2 separate regions of the Homo sapiens genome follow, and region 1 is linked to region 2. Evidence: promoter capture Hi-C in human tissues and cell types (Jung and others, 2019). All regions are on one chromosome and are shown on one strand. The core of a region is centred on a gene start or on the middle of the fragment in contact, and the rest is flanking DNA. Distances in the headings are between cores, read along the strand shown. Region 1 has its middle 22 kb from the start of CHST11. Region 2 holds the start of TXNRD1 (thioredoxin reductase 1).

Region 1 (6,293 bases), core at 1,796-4,295, 220 kb before region 2:
TACACTAGGAAGTCTGGACTACCTACCTCCCTCTCTACCAGAGGAAGAAATAAGCAAAGTAGATTTCTATTTTTTTAAGTCACAGTTATTTTGGGTCTCTGTTACCCTCAATTAAACAATAGCTGCCTTTGCTATTGATAGCCACAATAAAGAATATGGGTGCCACCTAAGTTTTTGGCTTGAGCAATTGAATAGGTGTTGCCATTTAAGGAAGTGGTAAAGACTAAGGGGAAAAAAACCAAAAACAAGATTTGGGTGAAAATCAAGAGTTATCTTTTGGTTATGCTGGAGCTGAGATGCTATTATACATCCAAGAGGATCTATAGACAGGCAGGCAGCTGAATATTTGAGTTTGAAGCTTGGGAGTGGGGAGGAGGCAGAGCTGAAGGCATAAGTTTTGAAGCCACTGTAGGTTGAGATGTCTCAAGAGTCATCAGCAGCACCATGTCCTCCAAGGGGGGGATGACCTTGCCTTGGCTGTGAAAGGTAAGCTTCATGTTATACCACAAATTCTTGGAAAAAAATGGAATTTTGGTAAATCAAATTTCATTATACCTATACTGGACAAACTTGCTATTTCAAAACATCCTTTCATTAATTATTTCAAGAAGTCTAAGTTTTCTTTCTGCCACTTCTTCTTTTACTTGTTTAGTTTGTCCAAATTTTGGTATTTGGGTCTTTTTTTTTCCAAGCATTCTTGCATTTTCTTTCCTGTAAATGAAAGTGTCAAAAAGATATTTATACTGTTACAGTAGGTAGCTAGTCAGACATGAACAGGGCAGGAAAGGCCCCCCACCCACCACCAGGAATGTCAGGGGACCATCAGGTGATGGTCAGGTGGTTCTTAACTGTCTCTCTAAAATAATAATTGGTCCAGCCAGTGCCAGGGAAACGCAGTCGTCCTATCAAAGGGAAAAACCTGAAACTGGTGATCAGTAGCTTCCTGGTAAGATCTTAGCAGTTGGGTGAGTGGGCTCACACATGTGCCCTAAGAGGTAAAGTGGTGGAGTTTAACTGGAATATGACCTCCTAAGGGACATTGGGCTGGTAAGGGAAGAACGTCTCGAGTGAGCATGGGTACAACTCCAGTAAACACACTGCGCATGCTCCACTCCCAAGCACTGGCAGCCACTGCTCATGCGGACAGGACAGCCCATCCCAAGGGGAGAATCAGGAAAGAAGAGACGTAAGACCCCAGAAGCATGCCCACATATAAAACCCCAAGTCGAAAGGTCAAACTTGTCTTTTAAGTCACCCACTTAATCCTCTTCCAAGTATACTTTCCTTCCTTTTGTTTCTGCAGTGAAGCTTTTTTTTTTTTTTTTTTTTTTTTTTTTTTTTTTTTTTTTTGAGACAGAGTCTCACTCTGTCGCCCAGGCTGGAGTGCACGGGCATGATCTCGGCTCACTGCAACCTCTGCCTCCCGGGTTCAAGCGATTCTCCTGCCTCTCAGCCTCCCAAGTGGCTGGGATTACAGGTGCATGCCACCACGCCCAGCTAATTTTTGTATTTTTGGTAGAGACAGGGTTTCACCATTTTGGCCAGGCTGGTCTTGAACTCCTGACCTCAGGTGATCCGCCTGCCTCAGCCTTCCAAAGTGCTGGGATTGCAGGTGTGAGCAACCGCGCCCGGCCAGCAAAGCTTTTCAATAAACTTTCACTCCTGCTCTAAAACTTGCCTCAGTCTCTCCTTTTACTGTCTGCCCCTTGGTCAAATTCTTTCTTCTAAAGAGGCAAGAACTGAGGTTGCTGCAGACCCCTACAGATTCGCCTCTGGTAACATCCCAACTCAAGAACATAAGCTTCATCAGGCCAGGGACCTCAGCTGTTTTGTTTAGAGTTAATTCTCCACACTGGCATAGAGTTGGTACTCCATAAATACTTGTTAAATAAATGAATGAGCTTATCAATTAGTTTTTCTCATCAACACATTTGAAATTGAATTTATCAATTTGTTTTATCATTAGTATTCCTGAGCTTCCCACGGAGATGCTACTGCTGTCTTTGGACAATTTCTTTGCTGCTGAGATAAGGAAAGGACTCATTTTCCCTGAGGCCTCATCAGGAGAGGAGGGAGAAGACTTCAAAGGAAGCTCCGACTTCACTGCCTGAACTGGCCCTAAAGGAAAGGGGAAGAGAAAGATCAGGAAGGTTTTTGCAGCCTTTTGTGCTACCATGCTGTCTGGAAGTTTCTGAGCTGGGTCTCTGGGTGGCGGCTGCAGCTCCTGGGCAAGGTGGGCTGTAGCAGTCAAGACCAGTCTCCTTCCTAGTTCTACCACTTACTGGCTGTGTCAGTGTAGCATTAGGCAAGTCCCTTAAACACTCAGTGCCTCAGTTTCCACATTTGTAAGTTGACACAAATAGTGACAGCTCCTTCATCACAGGCTGTTGTGTTGATTAAATTAGTTAAAATATGTAAAGTGCCTTTTAAGCTGAATATATAATAAGCTTTCAGTCAATGAAATCGTTATTCTTAGACGCCAGGCACTTCGAGTATACTTTCTCTAAGTCTCCCAGATAACCTTGAAAAGGTAGCCATTTAACTGACAAAATAGAGGCTTGGAGAGAGCAAGTTTTTTGGCCCGAAGAACTCCAGGGCTCCTTATACCTAATCACCCCCGTAATGTGGCTGAACCCCCTGAAAACCACCTGGAATAAGTTCTGGTTTCAGGGGCAGGACTACCGTCTTGATGTGCTAACTCAGCAGGTATGACCTGAGTGGCCATCACACTGGCTTATTTGGCTAAAACAAAAGTTCTTAACTTGTACTAAGACTTTACCCTGAGCTTAACCCTGGGATAGGCACTGCAGATGCCAAAGGTGCAGGAAATCAGCCCTTGCCCTGAGGAAGCTCACAGATCACGGGGGAGACAGGTGTGCAGACCAAGCCCCCAACATTTCAGTAAACAGTGGCCAGTGCTCTGCCAGGGGCCATGTAAGGCTTCCTAGAGGAAAGGAAAGGATGTCAGACTTCAGTCTAGAAGGATGAGCAGAAAATAAAGAAGCAAAAATGTGGGTGGGAGTAAGGAAGAAGAAGGATGGATCTGGGAAGAAAGAGCTTCCCAAAGAAAGGGAACTGAAGGGACAAAGGTACAAACGTGTGGAGCAGGGATCTTTGTGTCGGTCACTGCTAAATCTCCTAGAATGATGGCACATAGCAGGTGACCAATAAACGCTTGCTGATTGAATAGGAAACCAAGGGAAATTAGGCATTATTGTTTGCAGAGACAAATGAGACTCAGAAAGGCTAGTTTTCCCAAGGTTCACAGAGCTGGTAAGTAGAGTATCCAGGACATGAATCCAGCACTTTTGACTGTGAGCTGCACACAGACATAAAATAATAGTAAAATGGTAAAAAGTGGAGCTACCCAAACCAGGAGGAAAAAAAAAAATCCTCTGTCAACTCCAGAATGGATAAATAAAATGTGGTGCAGTCCAGGCACAGTGGCTCAAGCCTGTAATCCCAGCACTTTGTGAGGCCGAGGCAGGTAGATTACTTGAGCACAGGAGTTTGAGACCAGCCTGGGTTACATGGAGAAATCACATCTCTAAAAAAAAAAAAAAAAGAAAGAAAGAAAGAAAAAAAAAATTAGCCAGGTGTGGTGGTGCATGCCTGTAGTCCCAGCCACTCAGGAGGCTGATGTGGGAGGATTGATAGAACCTGGGAGGCGAAGGCTGCAGTGACCCTGGGCAACACAGTGAGACCCTGTCTCCAAAAAAAAAAAAAGGGTGGTATAGTCACACAATGGAATACTATACAGGAAAGAAAATGAAGGAAAAACTGTCACAGGCAACCACAAGAATGAATCTCACAAGCACCATGTGGAGGAAAGAAGCAGCCACAAAAAATTACACAGGCTATGGTTCAAGCATGTGAAGTTTATAAGCAGGCAAATCTTTTTTTTTTTTTTTTTTTAGATAGAGTCTTGCTCTGTTGCCCAGGCTGGAGTGCAGTGACCTGATCTTGGCTCACTGCAACCTCTCCCTCCCAGGTTCAAGCAATTCTCCTGCCCAACCTCCCAAGTAGCTGGGATTACAGGCATGCGCCACCATGCCTGGTTAATTTTTGTATTTTTAGTAGAGATGGGATTTCACCATGTTGGCCAGGCTGGTCTCGAACTCCTGACCTCAAGTGATCTACTTGTCTCAGCCTCCCAAAGTGCTGGGATTACAGGCCTGAGCCACTGTGCCCGGCCATAAACAGGCAAATCTAACCCATGATGTACCAAGTCAGCAATTACCTTTGGGAAGGAGGAGGGGGTTAGAGGTTGTGCAGGATCCCAGGGTGGCTTCCAGGGAGCTGAGCAGGCTCACCTGGTCACACAGGTGTGCTCCCCTGTGATAACTCATTGAGGGGCACACTTACGGTTCGTGCATTTTTCTCTATGTTATATTTCTGTTTAAAAGTTTTATATTTTAAGTGGGGATGTCTATACTTTGCTTTAAAATTGGTTTCAGGATCAGTATTCCAGAAGATGTCTGTGATCACCCAGGTTGAAATTTAAATGAGCGAATGCCCCAAAAGCACTTAGCATGATGTCTGGAATGGTGGACTCTCCTCCATAAACACTAACAGTTGTTATTATTACTATTATTATGTCTTTCACTTTCCAAACGGGAGCGGATAATTTTTTAAAGCACGCCGCAACACAGGTGCACCTCAAGCACCAGGAGTCCACCTTAAACAGGGGCAGTAGAAAAATAAGGGCAAAATCCCCCACCGCTGGGCCCATCCAGCACCAAAGCTAATGCAGTTTGCCCGCATGGCCATATGCCATGGGAGGGCCAAGCTGCCTGCCAAGCTCCAGCGCGGCCCAGATCCTTTCCCAGGTCCATCTGTCTTTCTTTGCCCTTTTTTTCCATTACCCTGCACAGGATACCTTTTCATAACATGAGGCTCCTGGACTCAGACTGACCACAGGCGCTTGTGTTTTTAGGGAAGGAAGGCGGAGCAGCTGCTTGGAGCTGCTGGCCACAGTTGTGGGGAACACATTGTCCTATAGCTCACCGACTCCCTTCTCAGTTCCCTTGTCATTTGGTGCAATCCCCCCAGCCCTTCTCGTCCTCGCCAGGCACCTACACCCCATCCTGGGCTTGTGTCTTCCTGCCAATGACACCCAACCCTGTGTCCTACCCCAGGACTGCTGCCCTGTCCCACCTCCTCCTCATACACTATAGTCATATGTTCATACATGCACACACATGCTCAGTCACACTCATATTCACTTCCACCCCATGCTTACACATACACGTGCTCACACACATTCTCATGCATGCTCACTCTCACTTATCAAGAACAACTCACAACAAAGAAATGTCCCTTGAACACCAGAAAAGCCTTGTGAATCCGGGGCAGAGTTTCTGAAAACACGGTCTGAACATCATCCCATCATTGTCCTATGTCACAGTCATCTGCAGTGGAAAACTTCATATCCTCCTCAGCCAAGCCCTAGACTGACTGAAACAGCATCTGTGGCAGCATAGCCCAGGAATCTGTAGCTTAACAAGTCACGGGTGGTTTTTACAATGAACCTGAGAGCAGGAGAAAAGGCAGGAGGGGGTGACAGGGTGCAGGCACCAAATGCTTCTGAGGTAGGGGTGCAGAGGCGAATGTGAGTCCACACCCCTGAGCCACAGAAGCCCCCAACTCTGCTCTAGGCATAACGGAGATGGGTCTGGCTGGGCTCAGAAGAGTCTGGCTATTGGCTGCAGGACTAGAGAGCGAGGCAGAGGCTCACTTTTTCCTCTTCAGTCGTGGGAACAAAGTGCCCAAAGACCAGAAAAGGGCAGATGTAGCTCTACAATAAGGTTACTTTCATTATCCTGGGAACTTCCGACAGGGGTTGAATATTAGATTGCTCAGTTATCTGTCGCTGGATAACCAACCATTCCAAAATGTAATGGCTAAAATGACAACCATTGTATTACATCTCACAATTCTGTGGGTTGACCAGCTGGCTCATTTCTGCTGCTCTTACCCAAAGTGTTTTGTATGGCTTCAGTGAGGTGGCAGCCAGGGCTGGAACATTCAGCATGGCTTTGCTCATATGTCTGGCACCATGGTGGGGATGGTTGGAAGGCTCTCTCCACGTGCCTTCTCCACACAGCTAACCTGGGCTTGGCTCTCTCCACGTGACCGCTCCACACAGCTAACTTGGGCTTTGCATGGCAGCTGGGTCTCAAGAGTGAGCATTCCACAAGAAGTCCTACTTCCTCACCCCAGATACAAAAGGATACAGTCATGGGTCACTCAATGACAGGGATACATTCTAAGAAGTGTATAGTTAGGCAATT
Region 2 (6,593 bases), core at 1,692-4,191:
TTTAAGACCAGGCGGTTGAGGCTGCAATGAGCTATGATTGGGCCACTGCACTCCAGCCTGGGCAACAGAGCAAGACCCTATTTCAAAAAAAAAAAGAAAGAAAAGAAAAAGAAAAATACCTAGTATAAAGCCGTGCTTTAATAGATTAATGCTTAAAATATGCCTAAATTTAAGTTTCAAAAAGTAAATGTAAATAGGTGAAATTCTTCTATGCTGTTAGAAATCAGAGTAGTGTTTGCCCTTGGTATGGGGGTAAGAGACATTAGAGGGGCTCCTGGGGTACTGGAAACGTTTATTTCCTCAGCTGAGTGTGGGCTGCATGCATATACTTCGTTTGTAAAAATTTAGCAAGTTGTATTATAACGAGTGAGCTTTTCTGTATTATAAAATAGTTCAGGCCGGGCGTGGTGGCTCAAGCCTGTAATCCCAGCACTTTGGGAGGCTGAGGCGGGAAGATCACGAGGTCAAGAGTTCAAGACCAGCCTGGCCAACATGGTGAAACCCCGTCACTACTAAAAATACAAAGATTAGCTGGGCATGGTGGCGGGCCTGTAATCCCAGCTATTTGGGAGACTGAGGGAGGAGAATTGCTTGAACCCAGGAGGCGGAGATTGTGGTGAGCCAAGATCATGCCACGGCACTCCAGCCTGGCGATAGAGCAAGACTCCATCTCGGGAAAAAAAAAATGTGGTGTGTGTGTGTATATATATTCCATTTTGTGTGTGTGTGTGTGTATATATGTGTGTGTGTATGTACATATACACACACACAATGGAATATTATTCAGCCTTAAAAAGTAAGGAAATCCTGTCGCATGCTACAATACAGATGAAACTCGAAGACAAGTATGCTAAGTGAAACAAGCCAGTCACAAAAAGACAGACACTGTATGATACCAACTTATATAAGCAATCTAAAGTAGCCAAATTTCACAGAAACAGAAAGTAGAATGATGGATACCAGGGGCTGGGGGAAACGGCAAATGAAAAGTTAACGAGTTGGCATGGAGTTTCAGATTTGCAAGATGAAAAAGTTCAGGGGATCTGCTTCACAACAATGTGAATATACTTAATACTGCTGAAAACTGTATACTTAAAAACGGTTAGGGTCAGCTGGGTGCAGTGGCTCATGCCTGTAATCCCAGCACTTTGGGGAGCTGAGGTGGGCAGATCACCTGAGGTCAGGAGTTCAAGACCAGCCTGACCAACATGGTGAAAACCTGTCTCTATTAAAAATACAAAATTAGCCAGGCGTGGTGGTGCATGCCTGTAATCCCAGCTACTTGGGAGGCTGAGGCAGGAGAATCGCTTCAACCTGGGAGGTGGAGGCTGAGGTGAGCCAAGATGGCGCCATTGCACCCCAGCCTGGGCAACGAGAGCGAAACTAAAAAAAAAAAAAAAACAAAATTGTTAAGATGGTAAATTTTTTTTTTTTAACCACACACAAAAAGAATGTAGCTAAAGAAAAACAGTAAATAAATGGAAGGACATAGATATCAAGAAGATCCTGAGGATGGCACATGAAACGTCAATTTGGGATGCACCTGCTCAAACTCCTTCATTGTACTAATGGCCACAAATTAGCTGCCTGACCTGGACCTTGCCTGACCTTGCTCCTACCCTGTTCCTTTATTCTTCCCTTCCCCTAATCCAAGTCCTTAACTCCAGCAGGATATACAGGCCTCCCTATCTCTAGCATGGTCTCACCGGCTGCTTCCCCTAACAAGAATGTTCTCCCTTCAGACACCTCTACCAAATCCTACCTCATCTATGGGAGCTGCCATCCCCACTTGGCTGTTTTTACCACTCCTTTTAGCCCTTCACCATATGCTGCCTTGTAACTAAACTGTAAGCCTTTGAAAGAGGCAGATCCTACAGCATTTAATAATTCTAGCCATTGGGCAAGGCACTTTTTGGAGCCTCACTTTCTCAAGCCTATAAAAAAGGTGGAGGCGGCCATATGACTATGACCAGGGCTTTTGAGTCAGATGGCCTCAACTGGTATCCCAGCTCTTCCACTTACTAGTTGTGTGCTTTGGGTAAGTTTTATAACCTCTTTGCTTCTCAGTTTCTTCATCTGTATAATGGGGTTTATGATAAATCTCTCAGTATGGCTGGAAACATGAACCAAGATTATTACCCATGTCTAGTGCTTCCAAAGGCCCCTCTCATGTCAGTGCTTAGTAACCACTAGCCATTATTGGCATTATCCGGACAATGGAGAAGAGACTGGGAGCTTTCTCTTCTGGAAGAACAAGTGAAAGGATAAAGCGGGATGATGGTGGGAGAAATGTGCCCAAAATTCAAGGGGATGGAGAAAGGGGGCCGGGAAGGCGTGTCGGACAAGATTCTCGATGGAGGAGGATGCTGGGAGTGGGCCGGGGGCTTCTGGAGAGGTGAAGGGGCACCCCCGGACTCGGCTGTCGGTTTGGTCGCTTCCCCCGTAACCTTTCATTGGAAACACGGTGCTTGTAGGAAGAGGACGCCCTAACGGGCCCTGAGCGAAATCAGGCGGGTCGCTGCCGAGATCTCGGTTCGGTTTCCGACAGGTTTCCGGGCAGGTCCTCGCGGCGGGCCCGCTCCTCCTTCCACCTCCCACCTCTCTCACAGCCAGCGGGCGGGGCAGCCCTCGGCCGGCCGCCGGCCTCCGTCTCCCGGGGTGACCTGGGGGAGCGTTTCTGGGGTCTCCAGCGTGGCGCGCGGTCAGTCACTGACTCCAGTGAGGGGCTTCAAGGCCAGGGCTCCGGGGCACTTTATCCCCAACCCCGGCCGGAAGGCCCGCTTCGGCCCGTCGACCTGGGGACCAGGCCTTCGCCCTCGGTCGTACCTGACCTACGGCGGCCATCGCCGTTCTTGCCTTTCGTCTGCAGCTCCGTTGGGGCGGCCGCCGCCACTGCCTTGCCCTCGGCGCAGCCCATGTCGCACAAGGCCCTGTGGGAACTGACGGAGCCGAAGGACGCCTGGCGGAGGCCGCGAGCCCCCTGCCGGCCGCGGGTCGGAGAACGCGGTGGGCGGGGCGCTCGGTGACAACAGCGAAGTCATAGCCCGTGTATCTTCTTCAAGGTCGTGAATTTTTTTTTTTTAACAGGAAAGAACGGTCGCTAAAGGTAAATTGGAAAATGCAGAAATGGAAAGGAGAAAAGAGCGCACCACCCAAAATCCTTATCCTTCGGCTGGGCGCGGTGGCTTACACCTGTGCACTTTGGGAGGCCGAGGTGGGAGGATTGATCGCTTGAGCCCAGGAGTTTGAGACCATCCTGGGCAATGTAGAGAAACCCTGTTTCTACAAAAAATAATTTTAAAAAATTTATCCTTCACACAAACTACTTTTGCTGTGTTTACTATTTCTTTCCAGTTTTTCCCCTCTATGCATAGTTTTGCATCCAGCATTTCACTTAATACTAGTATTTTCCATACTATCACATAGTCTTGTAAGCCTCCCAGATAACCACCTGGCTTCCACTGTCACTTCAGTCTTTGCCTCTTTGACCGTAGATGAAGCATACACTGAACATCGTAGTTTCTTTTTAATACACTTTATTTTTTAGAGCAGTCTTTTTTTTTTTTTTTTTTTGAGACGGAGTCTCACTCTGTCACCCAGGCTGGAGTGCAGTGGCGCGATCTCAGCCCACTGCAACCTCTGCCTCCCAAGTTCAAGCGATTCTCCTGCCTCAGCCTCCCGAGTAGCTGGGACTACAGGCGTGTGCCACCATGCCCAGCTAATTTTTTGTATTTTTAGTAGAGACGGGGTTTCACCGTGTTAGGCAGGATGGTCTCGATCTCCTGACCTTGTGATCCGCCCGCCTCGGCCTCCCAAAGTGCTGGGATTACAGGCGTCAGCCACTGCGCCTGGCCTTAGAGCAGTCTTAAGTTCACAGCAAAAAGACCATCCTATTTGAACAGAAATCTGATCACGCCCCCCTCAACTCTACCCCCACCCTTTACTTTACTCTATTTTATTTTTACCAGCACTGAGAGCCTTCTAACTTACCCTATATTCTCTGTCACCTGCTCCCACTCCCTCCGCCAGCCTCCCCACGACACCCTGCCCATGTAAACGCTGCCAAAATAGAACCTTTGCATTTTTTTCTTGTATCTTGGCCTTCAGCTTGGGCCAGGTGGCCTCCCCCACCTCTTGAAGGAAAGCAGGGAAGAAGCGGGAAAATATTAATTTGAATAATTATAATAATGTAATAGTCCATCCACTAGAGCTACTGGACGATTACATAGCCTATTATTAGATGTTTAGTTTGTTTTTTATTTTTAAAAATTATGAATAAGGCTGCAGGGAACATCTTTGTGTTTATAGTTTTAAGGCTGTCATTACACGTTGCCAAAATTGCTTTTTTGGAACTGTGGTTCCCATTTGAACTCCTACTAGTAATGAATGAGAGTGATTTTTTTTAACACCAAACCACATTGCGGCACATCAGGTGCACAGTCACTGTTCTCTATCAGTGCAGTGCTCTGTTTTTCCTTCTTTCAATTAACTAACATATGGTAAGCATCCAACTTATGCCTGGCTTTGTTTAGGGTTACAAGGTGACTCAAATTCCCTGGTCTCAAGGAACTTCCACCCCAGCTGAGATTTAGTGAACTTGTCTGGTCACCAGATGCGTGGCAATTGTGTGGGCCCTTTGTTTTCATTTGGGTTTGTGGACAAGCTTATATCCTGCTTCTCTGGAGAGCAGCCCAGAGTCAAAATGCTCTTGGAAAACACTGGGTGTTTATTTGCTTAAACACAGAAAACAAATAAAACTGAACCAAAGGCTTTTTTTTTTTTTTTTTTTGGAGATGGAGTCTCGCTCTGTTGCCCAGACTGGAGTGCAGTGGCACGATCTCGGCTCACTGCAAGCTCCGCCTCCCGGGTTCACGCTATTCTTCTGCCTCAGCCTCCCTAGTAGCTGGGACTACAGGCGTCCACCACCACGCTAATTTTTTTTGGTATTTTTAGTAGAGACGGGGTTTCACCATGTTAGCCAGGATGTTCTCAATCTCCTGACCTTGTGATCCACCCACCTCAGCCTCCCAAAGTGCTGGGATTACAGGCATGAGCCACCGTGCCCGGCCACCAAAGGCTTTTAATAACAGACATTGCACAAAGCTAAAGTAAATCTCTCTCTCTCTCTTTCTTTTTTTTTTTTTTTTTTTGAGATGGAGTTTTGCTCTTGTTGCCCAAGCTAGAGTGCAATGGCACAATCTTGGCTCACTGCAACCTCCACCTCCCAGGTTCAAGTGATTCTCCTGCCTCAGCCTCCCAAGTAGCTGGGATTACAGGCATCAGCCACCATGCCTGCCTAATTTTTTGTATTTAGTAGAAAAAGGGTATCACCATGTTGGTCAATCTGGTATCAAACTCCTGACCTCAGGTGATCCACCTGCATCAGTCTCCCAAAGTGCTCGTATTACAAGTGTGAGCCACCGTGCCCGGCCCTAAAGTAAATCCTAATAACAACTTCATCCAAGTGTTTGGTGTCTGTAGTAACTAATGCAACTAAGCCAGGACCCTTTAAAAGCAAAGTTCCCTCCCTCTGCGAGCCAGGTCTACAGTTCCTTGGTTCCACTGGAATGACTGTTTCAGAGATTTTTTTTTTAAATATGCTATTCAATTTATGTTAAAATTACCATTTTATCATCAAAATTCCAACTGTGGCTGTCATGTATTTTTCTCTATTTAGTACATGTATTTAACTAAGATGATGGCTTTCCTGTTATTTTAAACACCTAGGCAAAAGTATCTGAGAGTCATGTGCCTACCTGTGTCATCCTATCATATTTATAATAGCCAACAATTTGTTGGGTACTTACGGCGAGCCAGGCATCCTGCTAAGTCCTTTACTGGCATAAAAGTATGCTTATCTCATGTTTTTCCTGCAAGAGCCACATTTAGAAGGGTCTCTTATTATTCCTATTTTACAGAGGAGAATCCTGATGCTTAGGGGATTAATTGCACAGGATCACACAGCTTGATACTGAAATCCAGGTTTCCTAATTTCCAAGCCTCTGCTCTTAACCACTAACCTCTCTTATTACTATGACATCACACTCCACTAATTCCTATACATGAAAAGAATGTTTCCCTGGGAACTTTGTTTTGAGATTTAATTTTTTTAATTTTTTTTTTTTTTATGAGATGGAGTCTCACTATGTCGCCCAGGCTGGAGTGCAGTGGTGAGATCTTGGCTCACTGCAAGCTCCTCCCGGGTTCACGCCATTCTCCTGCCTCAGCCTCCTGAGTAGCTGGGACTACAGGCGCCCGCCACCACACCCAGCTAATTTTTTTTTATTTTTAGTAGAGACGGGTTTCACCGTGTTAGCCAGGATGGTCTCGATCTCCTGACCTCGTGATCCCCCCGCCTTGGCCTCCCAAAGTGCTGGGATTACAGGCTTGAGCCATCGCACCCGGCCTAATTTTTTTTTTTTTTTTGAGATGGAGTCTCACTCTGTCACCCAGGCTGGAGTGCAGTGGTGCCGTCTTGGCTCACTGCAACCTCCACCTCCCGGGTTCAAGCAGTTCTCCTGCCTAGCCTCCTGAGTAGCTGGGACTATAGGTGCACGCCACCACACCTGGCTACTTTTTTGTATTTTTAGTAG

What was found. The method cuts DNA at HindIII sites, captures the fragments that hold promoters and counts their contacts. A contact is called where the count stands out against the background at its distance.
Region 1: a contact is called between a fragment that was not itself captured here and the fragment with the promoter of TXNRD1 in region 2, in 2 of the 25 tissues and cell types used here (bladder and heart left ventricle).

The regions. Positions count from the first base shown.
Region 1 is chr12:104,431,788-104,438,080 of GRCh38, reverse strand. No RefSeq gene overlaps it. Among named protein-coding and RNA genes, the nearest start is that of CHST11, 22 kb to the left of the region's middle. RefSeq lists an enhancer at 1,751-1,920. The HindIII fragment of the contact is 3,140 bases long and covers 1,476-4,615 here.
Region 2 is chr12:104,212,127-104,218,719 of GRCh38, reverse strand. It overlaps TXNRD1 (thioredoxin reductase 1), which reads right to left and starts at 2,941. Exons shown (of 17, transcript NM_001093771.3): 1 at 2,827-2,941. The coding sequence starts at 2,917. RefSeq lists enhancers at 1,933-2,548, 2,549-3,165 and a silencer at 2,989-3,078. The HindIII fragment of the contact is 11,252 bases long and covers 1-6,593 here.